Regions from separate parts of the Homo sapiens genome. Here all the other regions are linked to region 3. Evidence: promoter capture Hi-C in 16 types of primary human blood cells and fetal thymus (Javierre and others, 2016). All regions are on one chromosome and are shown on one strand. The core of a region is centred on a gene start or on the middle of the fragment in contact, and the rest is flanking DNA. Distances in the headings are between cores, read along the strand shown. Region 1 overlaps LOC100130691 (Putative uncharacterized protein FLJ44553). Region 2 holds the start of IFT70B (intraflagellar transport 70B). Region 3 holds the start of LNPK (lunapark, ER junction formation factor). Region 4 holds the start of SCRN3 (secernin 3). Region 5 holds the start of OLA1 (Obg like ATPase 1). Region 6 has its middle 2.1 kb from the start of NFE2L2. Region 7 holds the start of AGPS (alkylglycerone phosphate synthase).

Evidence for each region. The method cuts DNA at HindIII sites, captures the fragments that hold promoters and counts their contacts. A CHiCAGO score of 5 or more calls a contact.
Region 1: a fragment that was not itself captured here is called in contact with the fragment with the promoter of LNPK in region 3 in 1 of 17 cell types (total CD8 T cells); the score reaches 5.0 in total CD8 T cells.
Region 2: the fragment with the promoter of IFT70B here is called in contact with the fragment with the promoter of LNPK in region 3 in 7 of 17 cell types (total CD8 T cells, total CD4 T cells, activated CD4 T cells and 4 more); the score reaches 9.2 in total CD8 T cells.
Region 4: a contact is called between the fragment with the promoter of SCRN3 here and the fragment with the promoter of LNPK in region 3, in 8 of 17 cell types (naive CD4 T cells, total B cells, naive CD8 T cells and 5 more). The highest score is 8.7, in naive CD4 T cells.
Region 5: a contact is called between the fragment with the promoter of OLA1 here and the fragment with the promoter of LNPK in region 3, in 2 of 17 cell types (non-activated CD4 T cells and total CD8 T cells). The highest score is 5.8, in non-activated CD4 T cells.
Region 6: a contact is called between a fragment that was not itself captured here and the fragment with the promoter of LNPK in region 3, in 2 of 17 cell types (fetal thymus and naive CD8 T cells). The highest score is 6.1, in fetal thymus.
Region 7: the fragment with the promoter of AGPS here is called in contact with the fragment with the promoter of LNPK in region 3 in 9 of 17 cell types (M2 macrophages, naive CD8 T cells, total CD8 T cells and 6 more); the score reaches 11.9 in M2 macrophages.

What each region holds. Positions count from the first base shown.
Region 1 is chr2:177,332,142-177,335,916 of GRCh38, forward strand. LOC100130691 (Putative uncharacterized protein FLJ44553) reads right to left here. Exons shown (of 9, transcript NR_026966.1): 3 at 2,252-2,388; 4 at 1-110. Among named protein-coding and RNA genes, the nearest start is that of MIR6512, 20 kb to the left of the region's middle. The HindIII fragment of the contact is 492 bases long and covers 1,005-1,496 here.
Region 2 is chr2:177,550,935-177,555,074 of GRCh38, forward strand. IFT70B (intraflagellar transport 70B) reads right to left here and starts at 1,862. Exons shown (of 1, transcript NM_152517.3): 1 at 1-1,862. The coding sequence starts at 1,829. RefSeq lists enhancers at 862-1,666, 1,667-2,470, 1,839-2,128. The HindIII fragment of the contact is 6,507 bases long and covers 694-4,140 here.
Region 3 is chr2:176,000,305-176,004,053 of GRCh38, forward strand. LNPK (lunapark, ER junction formation factor) reads right to left here and starts at 1,963. Exons shown (of 13, transcript NM_030650.3): 1 at 1,856-1,963. RefSeq lists an enhancer at 2,157-2,376. The HindIII fragment of the contact is 1,642 bases long and covers 936-2,577 here.
Region 4 is chr2:174,394,197-174,397,910 of GRCh38, forward strand. SCRN3 (secernin 3) reads left to right here and starts at 1,534. Exons shown (of 8, transcript NM_024583.5): 1 at 1,534-1,621. It overlaps CIRSR (corepressor of RBPJ and splicing regulator), which reads right to left and starts at 1,516. Exons shown (of 10, transcript NM_004882.4): 1 at 1,355-1,516. The coding sequence starts at 1,426. RefSeq lists enhancers at 1,415-1,464, 1,962-2,462. The HindIII fragment of the contact is 1,293 bases long and covers 554-1,846 here.
Region 5 is chr2:174,246,426-174,250,010 of GRCh38, forward strand. OLA1 (Obg like ATPase 1) reads right to left here and starts at 2,107. Exons shown (of 11, transcript NM_013341.5): 1 at 2,027-2,107; 2 at 290-390. The coding sequence starts at 390. RefSeq lists a silencer at 1,893-2,412. The HindIII fragment of the contact is 2,463 bases long and covers 17-2,479 here.
Region 6 is chr2:177,265,020-177,268,701 of GRCh38, forward strand. No RefSeq gene overlaps it. Among named protein-coding and RNA genes, the nearest start is that of NFE2L2, 2.1 kb to the left of the region's middle. The HindIII fragment of the contact is 1,496 bases long and covers 1,182-2,677 here.
Region 7 is chr2:177,391,237-177,395,340 of GRCh38, forward strand. AGPS (alkylglycerone phosphate synthase) reads left to right here and starts at 1,537. Exons shown (of 20, transcript NM_003659.4): 1 at 1,537-1,813. The coding sequence starts at 1,554. LOC100130691 (Putative uncharacterized protein FLJ44553) reads right to left here and starts at 1,455. Exons shown (of 9, transcript NR_026966.1): 1 at 1,337-1,455. RefSeq lists silencers at 1,537-1,756, 2,965-3,259. The HindIII fragment of the contact is 4,249 bases long and covers 31-4,104 here.

The DNA.
Region 1 (3,775 bases), core at 1-2,500, 1.3 Mb after region 3:
AGCAAACCAGGTGGCGTGGAGTTTGGCTGTATCAGACGTGCAGGATAATGATGCAAATGACCATGCTTACACAACCCCTCTGCATGACTTAGGAACAATGCCTACATTATCTTTAAGATACAGAAAACACAAGTAACATGTAAGAGACACTGTTAGAGTCAGTTCCCCTGATCACTAATATCGGTGTGTCGTCAGTCATTTTTTGTATTCCCATGTAACTGATTAAATCTATTTGGGAAAAAGTGTCGGCCATCGTATCTTAGATTCTGTTTCTTAAAAAAAAAAAAAAAAAAAGGAAGAGTGAGTTGGGGGAGGGCTGTTGATGGCAGTTTGCTGCCGCTGAGTCTGGCCTGCTGTTTTTCTGGCATTTTTTCATCTGTGCTGCCATCTAGAGAGGAGAATTGGAAACACGCAAAAATAAAGTCCCAAGATGGAGTTCAGGGAAAGTGGATACTGTGTATTTATTTGTAGAAAACTGGAAGAAACATCATGAGATTTGGGACTATAAATTTATGTTTTTCTCTTCTCTCTCTCTGTCCCTCCAAGATCCAAAACAGGACTTGGATATCTGTTTCTCAGTTTTTGTGAGGACATTCCAGGCATTGCTGGGAAGCCATTTCCTGGATTCGAACTGACTCCTTACATACCTAAAATTCAATTGTATAAACTTTCTGGGACCTCTAAATTGTCAGAAAGTGGTCTCACTTTTCTACAGTTGAAACATTGCTGGAAATGCTCACATTCCCAGTTCTGTAGGATTTGGAAATAAAATGGCAGCTTTTTGTGTGTGAATTAACAAGAGAAAGAAGTCCTTTCAACACAGTGGAGCAGTTTCCTGAAGTCTGTGCCTTCCACAGAATCTACCAGATCTGCGGGATGTTTATAGGTGAAACGTTGGTCAAATGAATTTGGGGATTGCAAGGTAAAACAATGTTAAGCAGTTTTTATAGGCTTTAATTTACCAGTGTCCACTGCCAGCTTGCAAGAGAGGAAAATGCTGGGCAAGCTTTCCCAAACTTGTTTGACCTTGAAACCCTGGGCTTTTCATAGACCTGGTGTTGTGTGGCGCTTACATTCGGAGCTATTACAACAGGGAAAGGACATTAGCCTGCTGCATGCACACTACGCAGAAACACCAGTCCTCCCTGACCCCATCCTATTCCTTCTCTCTGTGTCTCAATATTTTTGAAGTTTTGTTTTGGTTTGAGTAGAGACTGGGGAATTTAACTACTTTTTTTCTCTAGCAGGATTGTAACAGGAGTAGGATCTGTTTGATACTTGCTACTCCCAGGTAAAACAAAGTAAGTTTACCTACAACATATGCCAAATTTTCTCTCTCAGCTTACATGTCAAACAGCACATAGTAAGATAGTCTTTTTACTCAGAACACATTTAGTGTGCTCTAATTCTGTGTAAGGTACCACTGGGAGGGGAGAACAGAGAGAAATAAAATATGATCCTTGACTTAGTCAAATCATTAAATAGATGGAGTGATAAGCTTATACACAGATTACTACAAGATCCCTTATACAGATAAATAATGGTCATACTAGATTTAGTCATCATAACTGAAATAATAGGGTTTAGTTTATGTGGAGCAAGGCCATGGAAACTATCCATGGAAAAAGAAACTAATAGCCTTACAGAAACTCTGTTATAGTGGCATCCATTGTTAGAGCATTTCACCTTATTTAAAAAAAAAAAGAAAAAGTCAATGGCAAAGAATATCTGTCTGTATTAATTCTGGAAAGTGACATTCTTGATGAAACTAAGTGAACAATATTAATAATGCTTCTCTTTAGATAATTTTTCTGCATTTTAGGAGATGGACCATATAATTCATAGTTTTGACTCAAAAAGTAATGTCTCTATTTAGGTATTAATAAGGATATGATCCCTTACAAGGGATACATATTATTTCCACTTCATGAAAACAACAGGGGCTCAGAGAATAAGCTTGTTTAATAGCTTGTAAAGGGCAGGCTTGGAATTCAAATCCAGTTCTGTCTGGCCCCAAATTGTTATTTTTGTTTCCCTTTTTGTGGGGCAGAGTAATTTTAGAAAATGTTTGCGTACTTTCTGATTTCTATAGCCTAAAAATATGATGCCAAAGAAAAATGAGGAAAACAGCTTTCCTGAGCTTTAGAGAATTACACATACACAAATAGGAGACTATAAGCTTTGTGAGAGCAGAAACCTCAAGGCCATATCTGTTCTCTTTGCCACACTAAGCACAGAGCTTAGCACATACCTGGCATATAGATCCTCATTAAAGATTTGCTCAATGAGGCACATATGAATGATAGTGTTTGAGATTAGGTGGTAGGCACTCATGAAAACTTTCAATATCTTCTTGTATTTTTTGCAAGATAGTCCACAGTTTTGAATCTGCAAAGGAGAAATAAGATTAAGGTTAATGCAGGCCATTTGAAAGTATGCCTTACCTCCTCATGAAATGGTCTGAATCTGATCAAGGGCAATTTTCACATTTGTGATTGTACTTTCCAGTTAAAACTCAATAATTAATTAATCATATTGTGAGTCAATTTGTGGATGATTGAGAACCTTCCCCTGCATAGTTGTTTGGTCATTCCCCAACAAATTCATTCCCTGAAAATGGCTAAAAAAATTAGGCTTGAAGTAAAACTAGATTTGAAGGCAACGACTAAATCTTCTTTATATCTGTATTCCTAGAACACATTCCTAGAATATATTGTGCTTTATAATAAGAGCACAATATATTTTGAACTAGGAAGGAAGAAAAAAGAAAGGGTAGCAAAAAGGAAGAAAAATGAGAGTTAGGAATCTTGGATTTAAGCCTTGGGTTGACAATGTGAATTTGGGCCAGTCATTTCTTCATTTTGTTTCTCAGTTTCCCTTTTTGGAAGCCAGAGGAGTTGACCTAGTTGACCACTAACACACCTCCAGATTCTAATTGCCTGTGGAAGAGAGACTGGGGTCATTCTTGGTATAAACATGCCCATGCTTCCTTTTTTCCACTAGGGGGCACTGTAGTACTAGCGCAGTGGCCTCCATCTTCCAATTTATTCAATTCTGTTGACAGTATTTTTCCTGTTTTAGTCCCCTGGAAAACATTCTTTACCTTTAACTTTCAAACTCAAATTTACACTACAAAGTATGAGATTTAATTTGGTAAGGAAAGCTGGATAAACATAGGAAGAATGTAGTTCAATGATTTATATTGCTTAAAAGAGAAATTAGAATCACAGAGCTATTTGCATAGTTAGGTTATAACACGTTAAGATTTTCTGTGGTCCAAAAGGGGGGCTTTGAAACTCTTTTAAAGGAAAACAAAGTGGAAAAAATTGTAATTACCAGAATAACAAAAACATAAACTTAATAAGTATGTCAAATCTATGTGAAGACAACTATAAAATTGCCAAGGCTTAAACAGAGATATACCATGTTCTTGGATAAGAACACTCGGCATTTAAAAATTTTTTAATTATTCCCCAAATATATTCATAAATATAATACAATTCCAATGGAAATGCCAATGGAATTTTTTTTGAAACTTTACAAAAGAGTTCTGAAGTTCCTTGAGAAAAGTTAAACTGAAAAGAGTCAAGAAAAAAAGACAACCATTTGAGAGGAAGGAGGATTTTAACTGCTAGATTTTTTAAAAAAGATAAAACAGCTGAAATTAAAACAGTAGCATAATGACAGCAAAATAAACAAACAAACCAATAAAACAGTGAGTCCAGAAACAAACCCAAGTATGGTGTCCTGGATGTGTTTGTGTGTCTGGGGTTTG
Region 2 (4,140 bases), core at 612-3,111, 1.6 Mb after region 3:
TGAATAACACTATCACGAAGCATGATTGTGTGTTTTGACATGTTTTCTAACAAGGACAGGAAGCATCTTTTGGCATAATACCAGGTGTCTGTTCCCAGCTTTTTGTTGTAAGGTTCCAAGCTTTTGATAACTCGAGAAATACCAAAGTCATAATTTCCTTTGGCACAATAAAGAGTTCCTATCACCAAATTCACAATGCAGAGATGGTACATTTTCTTATCTGGGTCATCATAAGAGAGCTGCTCTTCCTCCTTTTCAATCTTCCTCATCAACTCCTCTGCTTCTTCATTTTGACTTGTCATAATATAGGAAACACAGAGATTAGCCAGTACAATAGCACTGACATTCAGGATGTTATCATAATGCTTCTTGACTATGGGTTCATAGAAACCAATGGCTTCTTTGTATTTGTTTTCCTGCATGAACAGAACATGAGCCACATTCAACTTCCACACATCATGGTCGTTACAGAATTCCACAGATTTGCGGAAGATCTTTTCCACCATTGGATAATTTTCAAGATTCCAGTAGATTTTTGCCTGAGCCATCAACACAGGAATGTATTTCTCCATGGTTTCATCATATTCATTCACTGCCTTTTTGATAGCTTCATCATCTCTATTGTGTCTTGCTTCCTGTACTTGTATGGTAAGTTTCCGGAGGACCTCAGTCAGCATCCCTGCTAGCCCATCAAGCTTAATGAAAGCCTCTTCAGGAGCTGTCTGGCAAGTGATCACAGCGTCCAAGAAGTCATAGAGATAGGGTGTGAGGAACTTATAAATCAAATGGGCATTTTCTGCCAGGACATCTGCTGCCAGGTCAAAATACTCATATTTACAGTAGAGCAGCAACAGGTTGCCAAAAGTCTCTGGAGGAAAGGGATTCTGTTGGAGCAAAAACTGTAGCTTTTCAAACCCTTCTGTAGGCCTGGCATCCATGTTCATTAGTGCCTGGTTGTGTAGGGTCACAGGGTCCAACTCTTCCTCTGCCCTGGGTGGCATGTCAGTGAGGGCTTCTTGAGCTGCCTCATAGTTTCTCAGTTGGTATTCTATAGCTGCCTTAAGGTTGAAGGCTTCCACCAGAGCAGTCTGATGGAGGACTAAGGTGTTGCCAACACTGCGAACATCAATGCCCTCAGTGGTCATGCCCACACCTAGCTCAGGGTGCTGGCGGATGCCACGCTCAATAATCTCAGCGATATGCTTCAGTGCTGAAGCATACTGTCGGCTGCTGTAATAGGCCAAAGCCAGGTTGTAGGAAAGGTCAGGCTGGTAGCCCGAGGCCTGCAGGGCGGCAAAAAACTTGGAGCATGCAGCTTCATACTGTCCCTCCTTGTAGAGCAAACAACCCAGGTTGATCTGGCCATCGGTCTCATTCTCGCCCCCACTTTCCTCTCCCCCTTCCCTACTCGGCAGCTGCTCTACCAGGCTCCTGGACCCTGGCAGATCGCCCTCGCTGTACTTGATAGCAGCTTGCAGGCGGAGGACCCGGCTGTGGTAGGCGGGGTTATCCAGGAGAAGGAAGGCGACCCGGGTGGCCTCCGCATAAAGGCAGGCCTTGTACAGGGCCTGGGCCTGGTACAGGCGGTACTGCTCCAGTTCCGGGTGCAGCTGGCCCAGCTGCTCATAGCACTCGGCCGCCAGCGCGAACTCCTGCAGGCGGTAGTAGCAGTAGCCTAGCAGCGACAGGCCGGCGCGGCTCCTAGGGCTCCGCTGCAGTTCTCCGCCCAGCAGCTGCACCGCCTCGGCGTAGCGTGCATTGCGGATGAGGCGGTACACGACCGCGGTGAACTCCCCGTCGGGGATCTGCGCGCCGCTCAGGCCAGCCATAACCACCACGGCTGTTATGGGTGCGGTTACTATGGCAACAGAGCAACCGGAAGCGGAAGACTGCCGGTTTCCTTGTCGCAAGAAATCTGTTAGGAACAAAAAGGGACCACTCTCGTCAGTCTCTCAATTTCAGCTTGATCTTCAAATACTCTGGACTGCGGAGTGGCGGCATTCAGGAGGGGAAAGACTACTCCGGGCCGTTCAGAGACTGAATCTACTCGTCCCGGCATGCACCGTTCCAGTGGTTCCGCGGCGCGGGTCGTAGCCGCGCTGCATGCTGGGAGACGTAGTCCCGGCTGTACCTACCGAACCGGCGGCCCGTGGGGGTGCAGGGTAACTCTCCTTCCCTGCCTCTTAAAGATGAGGGGCGCTCACTGTGTCTGTTATGGCACCGTGGTCTCTGGCGCGGCGGAGGAAGGTTTCCGGCCCCATGTTCCTGGCGATTTTGAGCCTGGTACACGGTGTGGTCGATAATAATGCTGGCTTTTGGTTTAGTTTCAGTAAAAGAACCGGGATGGCAAAAGGCGAGTTATCTCTTGGAATTACCCTGGAATTAGAGCACGTTCTTTTTTGCACTACCCCGAGGGCACAGTTTGTAAGAACGGAATAGAGCGGCGAGCAGGAATCCTTAATTTGGTGGTTTCCAGAGGTTAATGAGGAAAAAGGACTGTGAATCTTGATTGGTACTGGGAGAGTTTCGGTTTTAGGTCCAAGTATCTCCCGCTCTTTTTTCCCGTAACAACAAATATTACTGAGTATATATTGGCGTTTACCCTTGGCCATCCCCATTGCGCTGGAGTTCCAACTTTCACTACTAGGTAGAAACGTTGGAGAAATGCATGACTTCAGTTTTTTCCAAGAGGGGAAAATCCAAGACATTAAAATGTGCTCCTTTCCCTATGCATTTTTACTCTTCTCTCTTAACTACTAAATTAGTCAGCCAGTGATGTGTGGGTGTGTGAGAGACACACATGCTCAGTTTGTACTTTTCAGCCTTCTAGGGATTTTGGATATTGAACTGATAAATATGGATTTTCTTCTGTTAAAATAAGAAAAGATTGCCTACACTTTAATTTTTTTTCCAGATTCTTAGTTTGAAGATTTCTATGCAGGTTTGCTAGACTGTACAAGATATCATTCTGGGTTTTCTTTCATTCTTTGTTATATATTTGGAATAGATGCTGTAGATTCCATGTTATTATCCTGGGGCTATTTTTGTATAATTTTTTTTCAGTTTATTAGTGGCCATGATGGGGCTGTGAAAAACTAGGGGCTTAATTATTCCATAAAATTATATTTAATCACCAATTTAAAAAATACCCCTAGATAAACTGACCTGGAGACCATAGACTTTAAGGGAGAATAAATACAATTTTTCAATCAAGAATTAGGGACATAGACAAGATAGCAAAATATGAATTTGGCTTATCCCAGTGAGGTACTTGTAAATAGTGTAGTTTTCAAGGTAACAATAATAGTTGTAATTCATTAACATCTATCATATGGTGGCCTGGGACAGAGCATTGTCTTTTGTAGTCTTCCATGATGTCCATTGGCCTCACTACCACCCATGATAAACAGTCCAAGTCAGAGCATGTCTTTGCTATATAATTAAATACTTCAATGCAGGTACCTTACTGCCTCTTCAACAGTATTGCTGTTCATAAATCTTTTCTACATATAAATTTTGGAGCCAACACCAACCATATTGCATCACATTCTATTAGACCACCTATATATATTATTTCTAATCATAATAACCACCCTGTATTCTGCATATTACTGATGAAGAACATGTGAATCAGAAAGATTAGGCAACTTGCCTGAGATGACACAGCTAGATAAGAAGCAGCTGAATCATGAAATTCCAAAGCTAAGTTCAGTAGGTAATAGTCACTGATGAATTAACTCTATCTATCATGTATGGGCCCAGTTATAGGGGAATATTAGTGTCTTGCTTTTTTTATATTGTTATTTTCCTGTTAAAGCAACCAGCCACCTTGGGTTGGCCAGTGGAAATTTGAACTTCTTGGCCTAAGTCGTAACTGTGAGCAAGTATTAGAAAGTGATTAGTTGGGAATGGTCACCTGTTATACCTAAAAAGGAACTTCAGTAGGCATCTGAATGCTATACCATAAAGCAGCTGACTTCACGTACTCCTGTATTCTTCTCTCTTGCTGAGAAGTTTGCCACAGTTCTGTCCTTCTAGATGAGAACAGACAAGAAACCTCCTACTGCATCAATACCAAGAAAGGGACAAAGTGCACTCATTTTAGAGAGGTTGAGTGTAGCTCTGGACCATGCAAGAACA
Region 3 (3,749 bases), core at 713-3,212:
AGTTATTGCATTTGCAAAATGGTAAAAATATCTACACTTCATAGAATTGTTGTATAAATTAAATGAAATTATGTATCATTTGGCACAGTGTCCGACACATAGTAGTAACTGCTTAATTGTAGCCATTATTATTACCAGAAAACACATGTATTTATATGAAACACATTTCTAACTTCTTATAAAGAAAGCACCTATTTCATAATTCTAAAATTGGAAAATTATATTAGTTTGTATTTTTACAAAAATAGATTGCTCTCATTTTCTCTAGTATAAGAAATAGAGCAAAAAATTCTGTAGACTCTGCCATTAAATAACCTTGTAGGTCTTTGAAGGAAACAGCAAAGGAAGTTCTATGTTTATCAAATTCCAAAGTTAAGTATAAGCTATTTAATCACCATCAACAGTACCTCCATAACATATTATACTATACAATTGAAGAGTAAAGGTGATTTATTCTAGAATTCTAACTTTCAAATGTCCTAACTGAAAAGACAATTCTGAAATAGCCCAAGCCACATTTATTGCTCCTCAAAAAGAATTTTAATGAAAAGTACACCTCTATTATATATTAAGCACTCTTAATATATAATGATTAGTGCTTGCTTTCATGGTAAGTCAATTTTCATCTGAACTAAATACCACCAAAAAATTACTATTTGATTATAAATGTTTCTATGTGAAGTCATATATTTTTAATAGCCATATAACTTCTCCTTTTCTTGTATTTTCTTGTTTATATAACATATAAACACTATATAAGTTTACTAACATCATTACTGAGCTGATCTCAATAGATAACAGACAACCTTAAAATTCTAATTTAAACGCACCACTCCTGTTTAAGAAAATGTGTTAAAAGTCAACTTGGTCTTCTGGGGGCTGCTGAGGAAAAGAAATGAGCATTCCCTGCCAGTTTGAACATATTCCTGAAACCAAGCTTACTCACACCCACCAAACCGCTGTTGAATAGAGTCAATTTTGTCAATGCTGACACCCAGGCCATAAAGAAAGGAGGAAACAGTAGACACCGAGCAACACACACCGGAGGCCAACTGGGAAAAGCAGAACACGGAAAACTCAGTGATTCACGGGTCTTGCTTAGTACTGTGAAAGCACCATCAGCAAAGCTGAGTTGACCAATTTCAACTCTTTCTCAATCCGTAAACTATGAACTGACGGAATTTAGATTTGTTTTTCTCCTCCTACCACGCCTCTGATACAATGCACCTTCGCCCTTCCCCTCCACCCCACAGCCCACCATCCCTGAAATAAGGACAATGGTTGGAGAGTCTCTTCTCTAAGTAGCACGTACTCCACGCCCACACGCTAGAGCCCGGCAGCATGACACTGACAGTTTTCAGTCCCTTCTGGTCTTTCTAACTCTTGGAGCCTCCGCACAACTCAGAAAGAGAAGCGGAGAGAACGCTCAAAGCGGACAGCTGAGCGTAGGAAATGCTAGTTTGGGACCTTCTGACCTCTTTGCCCCACCTGTGTCGAGATAAGCTCGACACAAGTGGGCCAAAGAGCTGGGGCTCAAGCCAGTCACCACCCGGAATCTCCTAGAACCGAGCTGGAGAAACTACCAGCCCTAGAGGGGAAACAAGGGTTTCAAGACTCCAGCGCCACCACTGCCAGTGTGCTGGGAAATCCAGGGAACAAGGCGGCGAGCCTGGGTCTGCGCGGACCACCGCGCAGCCTGACTAGCAGCCGCCGCAGAGCTCTAGGCCACTTGGCAGGAGGCGGGGGCACCAAGGAGAGGCAAGCGGGGAACCCGCAGCTTATTTCCCAGGGGCACAGCTCAGCATGCCTCCCCGCTGCAGAGCCCTCCCAACTGCCCTCGCCTTGAGCGTTCTACCTGCAAGAAGCGGGCGCAGCCCGGCCCGGGCGTCCACCCCCGCCAGTCTCGGCCGCCACCGCCCAGCCTGCCTCCAGAGCAGGCAGCAGCCGCCACTGACAGAGAGACAAGCCGGGCCAACTCCTTCCCATGAAACCCCGCGCTCCAGCCGCTCGCCAATTGGCGCCGCGGTCGGCGCGCGCCGCTCCCCCGTCACGTGACCGTACCCTGGGCGGGTAGTTGTTGGGGCGGGTCGGCCGGGAGGTTAGGATCTTGTGTTTGTGGCCTCCGCAGCCAGCTTAGGCTGCTCGGTGTCGTGTCGCAGTTATGTACTGCCATTTATTATGACTCTTAGAATATAGTTATTTCTTACTCTTCCGCTGCCTCCTTTGCTTTTAAAGCCTGTTCTGCCAAGTCTCGCTGGAGAAGGAAACCCCTGAAACTGGTCCTGGTGGTCTCAGACCGCCGCGCGAGCGAAGAGTGGGGAGGACAAAGGTTGGGGAGTTGAGAAGGATGGAGATGGGTGCATCTGGAAGGGAGTCCGTCCTGAGGAGTCCCCCATCAGCTGTCAGCCAGCCAGCAGCAAAGCAAATTAAGACTACACAGCTCCGAAGAAGCCAGTTCCCAACCAAGCCAGTGGAGAAAAGTCAGCCCGGTCCCCAGGAGTGCTTGAGGCTCTGTCACTCTTGGACGTCAAAAAGGGTCATTTGATGACTGGACGCTTACCTCACCGGTGTGAGGTAAGCTTCAAACGCCGTATCATGTTGCTTTAAAACCTGCGGGTAACAGCATAAGCTGAGTTTTCTATCTTAGAACTCTTAACCCCAAGAACACTCTTCACAGGCCCTGATAGGTGGACCCACAAAAAAACCACTCAGGCTATATTTGACTCGGATTTGAAACGCTGCCGAAACGGTATTAAGTGTCCTCCTCAACTGGAAAAGACAAATAACAAATGATGCCTGAATGAGAAAAAGACTAGACGTGCACACAGTAATGTGTGAGCAGGGAAACTTCAGCGAAGGTTTTTATCATGCTTTACCCCTTTTACATGCTTTACCCCATGTGCAAACATTTTTCATGGGTTTTTTTCTATTTTTTATTTATTTTTATTCTATTTTTTTATTTATACACAAAAAAGTTTCAATGATTTTTTAAAGAGTAATAGTTTTAATATGTTACATTTAAACTTTGACGATGCAAACAGGTTGTCAAGAGAAGCAACTGAGCATTGTTTGGTTGGTAAGAAAATTTATTATACTAGAAGCTACCGCATAATTCACTGTGCAATTTGCTTGCCCTAATTGCCTAAATATTTAGTTACAGTTCTGTACACTTGCAAGGATGAGGGGAAGGGAACTGAAGTTTAGCGTGTCACTGTGGATCAGGCACTTTCCAAATGTAGAAGAAAATGAACAGAAACATTTCACCTGTTTTGATGTGGAAATTTAACCGTTTTGTTTTTCAACCTTTGCTGTTGCAAAGTATTAAAGTCCTGTGCAGTTTTGCAAATATATCTCACCGCAGAAAGATCTCCTTTCCTAAGAAGACTGGGAAGAACGGCTTTCCACTTGCCAGTAATGTGTCCTCTGGTTTCAATTGAGCCATCAGTGTCTGTACTCCAGCCTGGGCTACCAAGCGATACCCCACCTCTGAAAAAAGGGTAGCAAGGGGACAGAGAAGAGCTGTCTGGATACACGAGATTCCAAAAACCTAATCCTGAGATAAAATTCCCTAGGGAATTGCTCTACCGAGAGTAGAGATTTGACCTGGAAAGAGAAGGGAGAGAAGTATTTAATCATTAACTCTTTTAATCCTCCCAACAACCTTTTTAGTATCATTTTTCAAATGAGGAAACTGAAATGTAGAAAGATTATGTACACTGTTGAAGGTAACACTAAGCCACTGCCTCCTT
Region 4 (3,714 bases), core at 284-2,783, 1.6 Mb before region 3:
GTCAAAAGTTCCAGTAAAAAATTATGATTTCTCAGGTATATTTGTCTCTAAATATAAACAGCAAATAAGCAAGCACCTGAATTCCATCTAATCTCTTCATTCTTGTAAAAATAGTAACAGCTGACCCCCTAAGTATGCAGAGAAAGGAAATGTCTGTGTTTGGTGTCAAAAGTTATTGAGCCAACCAAATACAAGAAACCTCTCCCTCCCACAGTTGCAACCACACAAACACAAACTGGTGCAGTGGAAAAAAAATCACTGGGTTAATCAGGTGTTCCAGATCCTAGTTCTGGTACAACATTTAACTAGCTGTGTAACTCTTGGCAAATTTGTTTCCTCATTTATAAAATGAGGAGATGGGGCTGGATGATTACCAAAGAGCTTTCAAGGTGTATCTGTGTTATTAAAATTTCATGGGGGAGTTATTAAGAAAAAATGTTTAATAAGACTCCTTAGGAAGGTAACAGTGAAAAAAAAGTTGAGAATCACTGGTCTAGAAGTGAGAGTATATAGCAGTATCTCATCACCTCAACTCGTTCTAAAAACAAATAAAAGCTTAGTTATTTTCACAAGTTTCTATGTAGGGGCAATCAACATTTTATTGAGCACCTCCTCTCTGTAGTGGACACAGTGATAGATGCCTACGTTGTTTCAAATCCTTTATCTTCACTATTTCACTTAATCCTCACAATTAAGTCAATCATCCTTAATTTACAGATTAGAAGACTGAGGGTCAGATATTACAAATATTTTGTGCAAGGTCTTAAGGCTAAAAGTGACTGCTCGAATAACTAGAATCCAGGTTTGACTCCAAAGCTGATTCTTTCTACTTCACTCTTTTGCTTTTCATTACTATGATATTCACCAAAGTATTACAACTGGTAGACCTGTAATTATGTAAAACACTAAACTTCAACGAGTTTAGTCATCAAAAAGACACTAGATTATTAGGTAATTTTTTTAAAGATCTATCTTAAGTAAACGGGGAGGCTTCTTTGTACAGAAAAGTAGAGTTCAGAAGCCGTGATCCCTGGGATCCGAAAAGACAAAAAACCAGAATCAGCTGAAGGAAGTACTGAGGAATTTTGACATTAGTCTTCGCATATTATGGATTTGCATTCTGGCCGACAAAGATTCTCTAGGCCACCGGTCTCCTCGCTGTTGCAGAATAAACGCTGAGGACCCGCTGCGTCAGCGAGCTGCTCAGCAGAGAAAGGCGAGACCACCAGGGCTTTAGGCCTAGAGAAGCGGAGGCTGTCCTAGGGATCTCAGAGACACCATCACTTTCACTTCCAGCAGCCTCTGGGAAGGCGGTCCCTGTGGGCCTAATCCCTCCCCGGGTCTGTTTACTCACTTTTTTGATATTGGATTTGGAGGCAGGATGAAAGTCTTTCTTGCACATGAAGTTGGCGAAGGATTTCCCCATCTTGGAACTGGAACTAGGGAAAGCAGGGGCTAGATCTGTTAGCAACGTAAACAAACTCAGCCGCCTAACCGGAACTGCGTTTCCAGCAGCAAGGGGGAACTTCCGAGATCAAAGGTGACAGCTTCCGGCAACTGATGCCTCCACTGGCCACTCCTCCCTCCGTCCACCTGTCACTTCGGGTAGCTGGGAGGCCAGGTGAGGGGCGCGCACGGGGGAGGGGCGTGCATAGTTGAGACAGAAACCCGGAAGACCCAACTGTGGCGCGGCACTGCTTGACCGAGGGGCTCCGGAGCCCAGCTGCACCGGCTGCGGTTTGAGCGCCCAGGGCCGGGGTGCGGGGTGGACCGCGGCGGCCCTTCGACCAAAGGTGCTTGAAGCTCGAGCCCATTACTTTCTGTGGACTCTGACTCGAGCTGCAAAAGCTTTTCTGCACTGTTTTTCTCATCTATGTTATGAAGATAATAATTCCGGCCCTAACCGTAGTATGCTTGCGAGAATCCAACAATATGATGTTTCTGAAAGCGCCGGCTGAACTAAGAGCGCGTGAAATAGAATGACAGACAGCTCTGCAAGAACGGAGGCCCTGTCTATTTTGTACCCAGCTGTACGGTACTGGCGCCGAAAGACGTTCAATAAATACTTATTGAATGACGAATACGCGTTAGGAGTTGGTAAAATCTCTCAAGGCTTCACCTCCTCAGTGGGCTAGGTGCAATTCTAACCAGGGGGCAAGTTTCCTTAGCTTTCCCTACGACCCCAGTTAGGCAGCTCAGGTTACTATTGCAGCTTGATGGCCCTTGGGACTCCAGGTTTTTGAGTGGACGTGGCTGCTACTGCAGCAGGTGATCCACCAACCAAGTTCTCTATCAGGGTAATGTTAAGAATAAACCTTGGCCGGGCGCGGTAGCTCACGCCTGTAATCCCAGCACTTTGGGAGGCCAAGGTGGGTGGATCACCTGAGGTCAGGAGTTCAAGACCAGCCTGGCCAACATGGTGAAACCCCGTCTCTACTAAAAACACGAAAAATTAGCCGGGTGTGGTGGCACGCGCCTGTAATCCCAGCTACTCGGGAGGTTGAGGCAGGAGAATCACTTGAACGCGGGAGGCGGAGGTTGCAGTGAGCCAAGACTGCTCCATTGCACTCCAGCCCGGGCAACAAGAGTTAAACTCCATCAAAAAAAAAAAACAAAAAACGAATAAGCCTTTATGAGAAATTTTCTCTCCTACCAAATAATAACAATAACAGCTTTCATGTGAGTATCTACTATGTTCTATGCACTGTGCAAAACACTTTACGTGTTGCCTTATTAAGTTCTCATAACAGCCCATCAAATAGTGTCTTATTTTTCTGATGAGGCAGAAGGCATAGGTAAGAGAGAGATTAAATAGTCTGCCAAAGTTATATAGTGATAGAACTAACTATAAAACACAAATAGAAGGAGATCCAGGACATAAGAGTTGAAATACAGAAAGAAAATAACAGAAGCCATCAAGACATCAGACTTCTCGTCACTGAGGAGAAGAGGAAAACCCTTAAGAGTTTCAGTCTGAAGTTTTTATTTAGTCATTTTCTTTTCTTTTTAAGGAAACATTTATTATATTTAAATTTTGTTTTTAAGTTGCTAGCATCTGCCTGTGTAAAGCCATTTTAAGGTTTTGCCATTATTAAAGGAAAGAAGGAAACTCTGTAAAACAATGTGTCTGTTCTGGCAGCAAAATAAGGACCTTTAGGTGTTCTATTATAAGTGAAGATCTAAGATTTTCCAAGTTACAACTGAAGAGGTAATCTAGATATTAAAGTATATAATTGCGATTTATAAATTAAATATGTGAACTTTCTCCTAGAAATATCAGCAATTTGGAATTATATTGACATATTTTTGTCTGAATCAATGAGTCTGTTTCAAAATTTCAGTCTCATCAGAATTATAATGTGTATTATTTCCCAGCTCAAATAAGACCCCTTCTTCCTTCCTTTGAGGAAGTACTGGGCACGTAAGATTTTTTTCCATAAGACAAGTTCCAGCAAAGAGAATATAAAGATTAGTAAGACATACTCCCAGCCCTCAAGGATCTCATTGTCCAGTAAAGGGATTTATATATACACGAATGTAATGGAATCTAGCCTTTACAACAATAGAGCTAGGTACACGGATTCCCAAATATGGAAATGGTGAAACGAAATTCAGGGAAGACTTTAGGAGAGAAAGGTCTTAGAGAATAAATGTGAACTATACAGTAGAAGAAGGTAGTTCTCATTGCCATTTTCTTACTGAGTTGTAGTACCA
Region 5 (3,585 bases), core at 857-3,356, 1.8 Mb before region 3:
ACCTCCTTCTCCATCAAGCTTATTATGGTGGAGCTTTCAAATCAATTTCCTAAAGTAGCCTACTGCATGGCCTCTGGTAGACAGCCTATGTAGGTACCACACATAGCCAACCAGCACTGAAATCAATAAAATACATCTAAACTAAAGCCTAATTTTGCAATATTAATAGTCCAGCTTCCTGGCCTCTTTTCTTCAACTTAAAGTTTAATTACCTCACGGTTCCCATTTCTACAATAGGACCCAAAATATTTACAAAATGAAAATCACAAAAGCCCCAACGTTCACCTACCCAACATTTGGCAATCCAACAATACCAATTTTCAGTGAGGTTCCAAATCTTCCAATGATTGGGGGTGGTTTAATTCCATCACCTCCCTTTTTAGGGGGCATCTGAAATACCAAAGCAAACATATGAACAAAACTTTTTACTATCCACATGGACCCAAAACACATTTCATCACATACAATATATTATTGAATTAAGATTAAGAACAAAACATACTGTATATAGCGATCCAAAACTAACACAGAGCTAAATCCACTTTTTTTTCAGCAAAAATGTTTAAAAAGTTCTGTAAACATATCCGTTGTCAAAAGAGTCATTGCTGAGAAGTCCCAGAAAGACTGATCTAAAATCAATATTTGTTGGGCCGGGCACGGTGGCTCAGGCCTGTAATCCCAGCACTTTGGGAGGGGGAGGCCGAGGTGGGCAGACTGCTTGAGACCAGGAGTCGAGACCAGCCTGGCCAACACGGAGAAACCCCGTCTCTACTAAAAAGAAAAACAAATACAAAAAAATTAGCCGGCCATCAGGCGCGCAGCCTGTAATTCCAGCTACTCGGGAGGCTGAGGCTCGAGAACTGCTTGAACTCGGGAGGCGAAGGTTGCGGTGCGCCAAGATCACGCCACTGGGCTCTGCCTGAGCGACAAAGCTAGGCTCTGTCTTAAATAAATAAATAAATAAATAAAATATTTGTGGCACCAGGAATCAAAGATAAACTTAGAGTTTAGCTACCAATCTTCCATCCAGACTGCTCACAAAACACTTTATATCTTAACCTGATATATGGTTATATGAAAGAAAGCATTTGGAAGCAAGTACACAGAAGACAGTCAAAGAAAATTCCATTGTGGAACCACCAGCAGCCAAGTCACCCTTCACACCAAACCATTCCTCTATAATCTGGAATCTTATCTTTCCCATTCGCCCACAACCCCCATTTTTCACATAGATGAACACCCACCAGGTACTGGGGTCCTTCCACCAAGTCCCTCCCACCTTTGGCACTGAAGGTACGGCTCATCAGTCCTCATAAGCAACCTCCAAAATCTACATTATGGTTACTATTTCTAATGGTAAATTAATCGACGGAACCTTTTTATTTACAAGTCGAAACTTTCTCTGTCCCTTACTAGTTCTGTCTCCAAATCATGCGTGCAGAATTACTCCCACCCTTGGACTGCAAAGTGAAATCACAAAGACCGCTAAGCTCACGTCTCAGAAGCTGGGAACTAAAACTGTCCCAGTCTTCTGGCTGAGAGTTGTACCTCCTAGGACCACGCTGGGGCCCTGCCCTTGCAGTAGTATTCCAGCCTCTGATCCCTGACCCCGAGGGCCAGGAATTTCCCTTCTCAGCGTCCTGACACCTGTTCCTGGCCAACTCCCAGGCCTCCAAAGAACAGATACAGGAACAGCGCCTGTCGGGTCCTCTGGCCTACAGAGAGGTGGCCGGCAGCCCACCCAAAGTGGGCCCCACCCCCCATCCTCCTCTCCGGACTGGGCCACCGGGCGTCCTGGCGTCGGGAGAAGGCTTTCCCCAGGGCTTTCCCGCGTGAGGCGTAGGCCGATCTCCCGACGCGCGGCCTAGTCCGACAGCGCCTCATTCATCCACACATCCCCAAGCCACCCGCTGCCCTGGCCCCATCTTGGCCACTGGGCCCGGGCCCCGCGCCAGCCTCAGGGCAATGAGCCCAGGCGCCGAAGACCTGGCGGAGATCGCGCCCCCGGGCTCCCTGAGGGCCTCACCGTGCTCGGCCTGGGCGATGACACGGGGTCCCAGCGGCAGCGAGAGAAAGGTCCTGCCGGCAGCTGGAGGCGGGGAGGAAGGAGGAGAGAACGCAGGCCCGTCCCCTCCGCCGAGCGGCACGCACGACGGCGGCGACAGCGGCGGAACGGGCGGGCCGGGCGCCGAGCGGCACCTGCGCGCAGACCATGGGCCCCGCCCCTCCCCGCCTTGCCCGCGCGTCCCGCCCATTGGCCTAACCGGCCGGGGAGGCGGGAGTAGGGCGGGAGGAGCCCAGGGTGGGAGGAGCCGCGCGGCGGCAGGGAGCTGGAGAGGGGAAGGCGCTGGCTAGGCCGTTCCCGGGAGCTCTAGTCTTCCGCTTCGGCACGTGGGCTTCTCGGTTCTAGGTCTCCGCTTCCGTCTGGCTGCGCGGCCTGGGTTACCTGCTCACGTTCACTCGCGGGCCTACAGCCCCAAGCTTTCCCAGCTGGACTGCGGAGTGCCTTGGGCCCTGACTTCCCTCCGGGAGATCCGGGGCGTCTGAAGTCAGGCAAACAGCCACACCAGCCCCGAGGACCGCGTGGCCGCTAGCCCATCTCCCTTTTCTATAACTTTATTCGCTCAGTCTGTGCGGAGAGAAGCTGTTAACTAAAAGTTCTTGAAGGAAAAGGGGCTAAGGGAAACTTTGGTCTAGGGATTTCTTCCTCGCCTTATAGTTAAAGCGTCGCACACAGGTACTGGATCACAGAATGCGTTTAATTGAGCCAATTTCCCCCCTTTTCCTCTTGGTAGTTGAGAGCAGGGGCCTTTGAAATTTGGGAATTTCCAATCTGGATTTCGCCACTCATTGACTGTATGACCCTAGACAAATTAACTTCTCTGGACTTCAATTTCGTTCTGGATAAAATGAGGCTATTAAAACCACCTTATGAGGTTATTCGTGTGAGAATAAAATGAGACAATGCGTGTTGAGCTCATAACAACAGTACTCAGCACATACAGAAAAGGCTTGTGAGTAGTCGCTGTTGTTAATATTAGGATTTCATCCCATCTCACCCACATCATATCAATACCATGAGCGCCACTGGAGAAGGAATTCTTTCATTTAGGTCCTGGCCTTCAGATGTCATTCAGGTATTTGTTGTAATGAATATGATACCTGTCCAAAAATTGTGACACTAGAAGCTCCTTTTAAAGGGATTAGTTGCTATTAATATTAAAGGATGTAAATAGGTCGCCATCCCCATTTTACAAGTGAGGAAACAATATCAGAAAGGTTGATTAATTTGGATGAAGTCACACAACTAGTAAATGGCAGCAGCATATTTCAAACCACAATCTAACTGAAAATCTGGCCGTAATCCCAGCACTTTGGGAGGCCAAGATAGGGGGATCAGTTGAGCCTAGGAGTTGGAGAACAGCCTGGACAACGTGGTGAGACCCCATCTCTACCAAAAAACAAAAATTAGCTGGGTGTAGTGGCACATACCTGTAGTCCCAGCTACTCAGGAGGCTGAGGTGAGAGGATGGCTTGAGCCTGAGAGCTCAAGGTTGCAGTGAGCTATGATCACTGCCGCAGCAC
Region 6 (3,682 bases), core at 680-3,179, 1.3 Mb after region 3:
TGTTTGCGAAGGTCGCTGGAGTTCGGACGCTTTGAAACAGTTTAAACAGTTGGAACAAACACACCCGGAGCCCCGGAAAGGCGTTGGTGTAGGAGCTGCGCCTCCCTGATTTGGAGTTGCAGAACCTTGCCCTGCTTTTATCTCACTTTACCGCCCGAGAATGGCGCCAGCCGGGGTGGGGGGGGCTAAAGATTTGGACCCAGACCGTGCCACTGCCAACTGCCCTCCCGCCCTTGCTCCCTTCCCGGGCTGGGGCCAGTGGGCCCTGCCTAGGGGAGATGTGGACAGCTCCGGCAGCTCGTGTTCGCAGTCACCCTGAACGCCCTCCTCTGAACTCCCACGTGTCTCCATTCTCCTAAGCTCAGGTCGTCAAAGGCAAACGGAGAAGCCCCTTTAGGTCGGAGAGTGGTCAGTATTGCCCACCCAGAGCTGGGAGAAAAACGGGAACCCCAAGAGAACCTCTTCCCACCAAAGCGCAGCCACCACGCCACAGATGGCGCCCTTCAACAGTGTGTAATACCACAACATGCTGTAATCGTTTACTCTTTACAAATTTCTTTTTCACGTACTCACAAAATAGTACAAATTAAAAAAAGTTACAAAAACGTTTGTATAGTATTGGCTCATTTTATAAAAACGTGCCTAGAAAAAAATTGAAGGTTACCAATATATTAAATGCTGTGGAATCAACGATTTTTATGTTTCTCCTTGTTACTTCCAAGTATGCTTTAAATCTGCAGTGCGTATGTTTTATGTCTTACATTAAAAACAATTATTTAAAAATTAATCATTGCCCAGAGAAGACTTCAAGTATTTGAAACGAGGAATATTGTGAACTCTTATAAGGGTTCAAAGAGGATAGATAAATGGTTTAGTTTTGTTTTTTTCTTCCTCTTCTGCATTTACAATCTTTCTAACTCTATACAAGACTGGTTTTCAGTTTCTAGCTTCCTGGAATTATTCAAAACCAGGTGAAGTAGATAATACTGGCAGTGGTTTTGCTATTTCATTCAAAAACCACACACACACCCCTGACTATAGCAATCAACGCCCAAAAAGCTGCAGAGCTTACTTTCTCTAGGTTGCATAATTTGACACTCCCAGGATTTATGTGTAAATTTGTATATTCAGATATTCCTTGAGATAAGTGAAGCCTAAATTAATTACTTGTAATTGAAGCAAGCTTCTTTAACTCCTATTAATTCCTTTCAGCTGTTATGTGAAAACCCTGCAACATGATCTGCACAATGAAAACAAGTTAGGAGAAAACTGTTTGCAAAGGACCTCACATGAAAGATGCAGAGACATAATAATAAAATAACATTTCTGAGTCCAAGAAAAAGACAAGAGTAAATTGTTAACAATTCAAGTTACTTATTAAAATTACGACATCAGAGAAGGTAGACAATGAGCCTAGTAGGTAGGAGATACCAGAGTCATATGACATGGTTACTGCTCTAAAGGAGTTTATAAAGTATTTGGTATTTCCTTGTTAAGCCACAAAATTTCCATTGAGTTTAGACTGAATGAAATAACCTTCACTTTTCCAATGCTGCAATTTGCTGAGAGTGTGTTATTTCAGGCATCTGCAGAGTACATATTTTCAAAGGGAGGGGAGCAATATGATAAGAGTTTGAACTTGTTTAAGAAAAACAAACACTAAGGAAAAGCTGTTTGGCATTTGGTTTAGCCAAATAAAGGGAACCCCATTCTCAAGACCACCCACGTCAAGGAGGTGCCCAATCTTGGCAGACTCTGGAATGTGATTGTCTTCATATGAGAGCCTGAGCCCTTGCTTTGCCCTCCAAACCTGCCTATTGTGTTAGGAGGGCACAGATAATGCATGTTGAGAAGCTCTGGAGGAGCAAGAAAGAACAAGAAAGAGGAGGTGCTGGTTTTTCTCTCCTGTCTTGCTGCCATGGGATCCTTTTTTGCTGCCAGGCTCTCCTCGCTACTATTTGGGAAAAATACCCTCCAATTGGTTTTATGTTCTATTGACTCTTGTACCTTTTCATTGATTCCTGAATCATTTGCTGTCTTTGGGAAGACGGCCTTCCCTACATGCTTGAGATGTGTCAATTGTGATACCTTGCTCCAGATTGCTCATAAAAAATAAGCATCATTGGCCAGGTGCTCTGGCTAACGCCTATAATCCCAGCACTTTGGGAGGCCGAGGCTGGCGGATCACGAGGTCAAGAGATCAAAACCATCCTGGCCAACGTGGTGAAACCCTGTCTCTACTAAAAAATACAAAAATTAGCTGGTTGTGGTGGCATGCGCCTGTAGTCCCAGCTACTCAGGGAGGCTGAGGCAGGAGAATTGCTTGAACCCAGGAGGCGGAGGTTGCAGTGAGCCGAGATCACGCCACTGCACTCCAGCCTGGCGACAGAGTGAGACTCTGTCTAAAAAAAAAGTATCATCAAGTAAGTCTTCTGGGTATAAGAAGTCTGGATAATGGTGATGCATTGACCCCTTAGTTCCACCTCCTTTGTGCTCCAATCTGCCAAGTTGCAAGGTGCAAGAAAGTACCGATTGTTTCAAAATCCTCCATCACTTTGAGGCTTCTTCCTCTCTCTGTCACTTCCTCTCAATTGTTCTCCATGTTTGAGCCAGAAAATATTCATAATCTTTTAGAATTGTAGTTGAAATTCTACTTTGTCCAGTGTAAAGTATAGAAAGCTTCCAAAGATGGCACCCAGTAAACCACCTCTCCTGATATTGAGGCATTTGTCTAGTCCCCTCATATTGAAACAAGCATGGCTGGCCCTGCAACTTGCTTTAAGGTATGGAAAGAGGCCAGAAGTGACATTATGCCAGGTTTTAACCTAAGCTTGAAAAAGCCCTGACAGCTTTTAATTTTATACTCTTGGAAGTCAGCCATCATCCTAAGAGGTCTGACTACCTTGATGGAAAGAGAGGCCATGGGAAAAGTCATGGAAGATGAAACTCTAAATGGAGAGAGAGAGACTATGTGAACCAACACACCAGACATGTGAATGAAGAAACCATCTTGGACCTTCGAGCCCACCTATTCAAGCCCCCAAAGAACTCCAGCTCCAGCTGCTATATGACTGCAGTCACATACAAGAGACTGTAAGCAAGACCGGCAGAAGACTCCCTGGCTAAGCTAAGTCAACACCAAGAACTGTGAGAAATTATAATAAATCACTTTCAGCTATTAAATTTGGGGGTGGTTTGTTTCATAGCAATTGATAACCAAAACAGCATACTGTATGTATGGTGACTATCAAAGGCAGGGTTTCCCCTGGCTGCTCTTTGTTTGTTAACCAACATTGGGAGCACAAACAGGGAGATGATACTTGGTGATTTAATAAAACTCAGACTCTCAGAAGAAAATGACTTCCCTGGGAATGAGGAAGCTGTCTTTCCCATAACATATCTTTGTTGCTACATACAAAGTAAAAAACCTCATCACACCATGCATAAGTTTCATTTTATTAGACGATGGAGAGATAGTCTCCTTATCAAAATACACTTCACGAACACAGACATTTTATCAATGAAGTAGATGGAGGGATAAATGCATACAGAGGTTCTGACCGTGATATGACCTCATTTGTGCCAGTTATGTAAGATACTCGCTGAATATCTGCTTAGGGAGTTTGAACTTGAGCAACCTGCCCAGTGGATAAACTAAACTCCAGTATAGGCCAGGCGCGGT
Region 7 (4,104 bases), core at 287-2,786, 1.4 Mb after region 3:
ATTTGAGATAAAATATAGCTATTTAAGAAAAGCTTCTTACTCTCCTTGAGCCTTCATCTATAAAATAAGGATAATAAAACTGTGTCATTGTGTTACTGCAAAGATTGATTAAATAGATACGTATAAGATGCCTAGGTTATGGCCATTTTTTATATTTAACAAATTCCTAATTCTTTCTTGTTTCTACAACTGTACTAAATTATTTTAATAGCTGCAAAAGTATTTTAACATATTGACTAACCATTTCTCTGTTGCTAGACATTTGGACTGTTTTCAATGGTTTGGTATCTCTTCGTATATAAATTTCAGAAGACATTCGGACCTCCTGTAAAGGCCAGGTAATACATATTTTGGGGCTTCTGGGACCACATAAGGTCTCTGTTGCATATTCTTTTAAAAAATTTCTTGTTTTCTTTTAACAACCCTTCTCAAATACAAAAACCATTAGCATGAGGGCTGTGTAAAAACAGGCCACAGACTAGAGCTGGCCCTCCAACAGCAATTTGCTTAGCCCTTAATTGAGAGTTTTTAACCAGTCTGGGCCTCTTTGGAAGTTCACTCTAAAGGCATAATCTCAATTTTAGAAGCTGGCAACACCCAAGAGAGCAATTGTTAGTCTCTAGTCCCATGGATGTGGTGTTCTTCAGATTCCTCTGCCAATATTTTTCTTGTTAGGAAAGCATGATGTGAAAGTGGTGACAGGATGGAGAATGACAATGGCCAGTGTATGTGAGTTTTTGTCTAAGCTAATTCTTATGCAAGACACCGGCTGAAACAGGTGAGGAGCACTTTTCACGTGCTATCTTCCAGAAATGAATTCAATCTGTAAATAACTGAGATGTCTTCACAGCTCTTGGGTAATTTTTGTCTGTAGCAATAAGAAACTTTATCTCTATTAAAGTTAGGAAGGGGTTAGGATCCAGTAATGAATGAAATGAGAACTTAAGTTGCAACTCAGTTTCTGTACTTACTTGTGATCTAGCATTAAACACAGTGCCAGGCACGAAATAGGTGGTGAGAAATAAGAAAATGATAGAGCTATTTGCTCTAATGGTTAGAGGCAATGATGGTCAGCTTTGAGTTACTTTGGTGACCCCGCAGGGAGGAAGAGCACAGGTGGAACATTAGAATCTCTTTCAGGAAAAGGATGCCGCTGGATCCATCAGGTCCAGTAGCACTGCCCATTTCTCCTGCTCCAAGGCATCTGCCCTCGAAAGCCCCCAGGCCACACCCGAGGACACCACCCAGGGTTCTAGGACACCTCGAGGGCGGACGTGGTTTGGCTCTCGGTCCAGCTGGACCGGGCTGGGCCAACCGGGAGTCAGCTCGAACTCACCTGCTTGGCAGGTGCGCGCTTCCCGAGGCGTGACAAGGGAGCGCCGGCGCGGTGGGTGGGGGGCAGAGAATGTGAAGCTCCAGACGCATGGCACCCGCCGCCAAGTCGCCGCGGTGGCTGCCGGGATGCGCCGCAGCGAATGGTCGCGCCGGGCGCCGCTCTGAGTGACCTTTCACCCGCGCCCAGCGGTTCCGGGCGGCAGCACAAGGCGGTAGCCATGGCGGAGGCGGCGGCTGCAGCGGGTGGGACTGGCTTGGGCGCGGGCGCGAGCTACGGGTCTGCAGCGGACCGGGACCGGGACCCGGACCCGGACCGCGCCGGGCGGAGGCTGCGGGTTCTCTCTGGCCATCTGCTGGGCCGGCCCCGGGAGGCTCTGAGTACCAATGAGTGCAAAGCGCGGAGAGCCGCGTCGGCGGCCACGGCAGCGCCCACGGCCACTCCCGCCGCGCAGGAGTCGGGCACCATCCCAAAGAAGCGGTGAGTAGCGGTATGTGGAAGGAGTTAGCGTCGAGGGACCAGGCCGGGCCTGTGCTGCAGGAGGGCACAGGCGAGGTGGGAAGGGAAGTGACACGGGTGGGCGGAAGGCATCCCGGTCCCTGAAAGTAGGGACCCACCTCTCTTTCGAGAGAGTGGACTAGACCCTGGATTCTGTCAGGAAGGGGGCGGGATGGGATGGTGGATTTTGGTCACTATGTGAGGGTAACAGGCTTGAAGAACTCTCGTTGGAGAAGGGTTTAAAGGATTCCTTTTTCCTGAGCTTTTAGTGCCAGGAATTCATTTTTTATCTTGAATTAATACTTTTGGTGCTGAGGTCTTGGAATGGGTAGCAGAGGTTCTATTTTTCTCCGAGGAGATATAAATTTGTACTAGATGATAGATCATAGGAATCTCTCTCATTCGCGAAAGCCTGCTGTGGGGGAAACTGGTGGTGCCCTGGAAAAAGGTGCTGACTGGTTTCTGTGGGGTAAGTTCCACTTGCTTAGGATCAAGATGTATTGACTTTGAGGGAGGAAACCGATGAATGGTAAGAAGCCATAAACTGCAAACACTAGCTAGTGGTTTAAGGTGTGGTGGTATAGCTACTGAGCTCTGTGTAACCAGAAGCTAAAAGACAAGAGTCTAACCGATGAGGGATGTTTGTAAGAGATCTTGACTTTCGATGTTTTTGGAGAAATCTTTTTTTTTTTTTTTGTATTTTTAGTAGAGACAGGGTTTCACCGTGTTAGCCAGGATGGTCTCGATCTCCTCAATCTCTGATGAAGGCTATTAGGAGAAGCTACTTTCTGACGTGTGGCTTTGTCACCGTGGATAAATGGATAAACCGAGAGTGAAAAAAATAAGTAGCTAATGTTTAAAGTGTACTTTTAAGTGTGCCAAAGTGTGCTAAATCCTTTGTTTCTTCCCAAGCTATGAGGTATGTGCGGTTTTCTCCCATTTTACAGATGAATAAATTAAGTCTGCTGGAGTCTTAGCAGATATGCTGTGTGACAGGTTAGAATTTGAAAGCACATCAAATTGACTTCATGGCCAAGTTCCTAAGCTATACTTGCTTCTGATGAATTAATTCAACATACATGAGTCTTTACAAAATACACACTGTACCAGCAATACAGAAATTTAAAAATACGGTATTTACTCTTAAGGAAGGAATAGCTTAGTAGGTAAAATTATAATACAGCGTTATAAGAAACTTAACTGGGAACTATACCACCTGGTCATTTAACCCAGTTTTGGGTTTGTGTTTGTTAGTGCAAAGATGTTCCAAAGTAAAGATTGTCTGAGTAAATTTTGGATGTTTGCATTACTAATAGTTTGCCAAAGGGGGAAATTGTTCTTGGCATACAAACAGTATGTTCACAGGTAAAGAAGTGAGAGACAAATTAGGGAACTGCTGAGACTCAAGTGTAGTAGGAGAGGGTGAGAATGACAGGGGACGAAGACTGGAGAGGTGAATCTTGTTTACAGGATTTTACGTGGGGCAATACATGATTAGATTTACCTTTGATAAAGGTCACACTGGGAGCAAATTGAAGACAGTTGAGCATTTTGGCAGTATAATGGCTGGGAACATAGACCTGGATTTCAATTTCCACTACACCGTTACAGCTCTATGATCTTGGGCAAATCACTTAACCTCTGAGAGTTTCAGTCACCGTCATTTGTAAAAACGGGAACAGTAATCCTGTTTTGCAGTGTTGCTGTGAGAATTGAAAAAAATAGAGTTAAATGATCAAGTGTTTAGTGCAATGCCTGTTACATAACCTTTCAAAGAATGGTAGCTGCAATTTTCACAGTGTCTAAAGGCAGAGAGACTAGGAGACTATTATTCCAGGGAGAAATGCTGGGATTCTGAACTAAGGCATATTATTGGGAGTAGGCAACTTAATTGAGAAAATGCTAGGAGGTAAATTTTCCATAACTTGGTTACTGAGTGGTGGGGAGGGGAGGAATAAAGGATTTCATCTCGTCTCCTGGCTTCAATTGAGGTTATATTATTAATAGCTGTCATTAGGTTTAAAATTTTCTAAATGGTTTCATGTACATTTATGTGTTCTCATTTGTATGCATATATGTGATTGTACATTTTATGTAGATTCACACTCTTAGAACCAAGTAAGGAGGGCAGGTTTTCCTTATGGTTAGATTTAATGGCTTGGTTTACAGCATTCAGAGAAAAAATAGTAACGTTTGTAAGGCACACCAAGATGATGGTTGAAGGTGACTGGTCAGGGATGCCCTGTGTGGCTGCTCCAAGGACTGAAGGCATC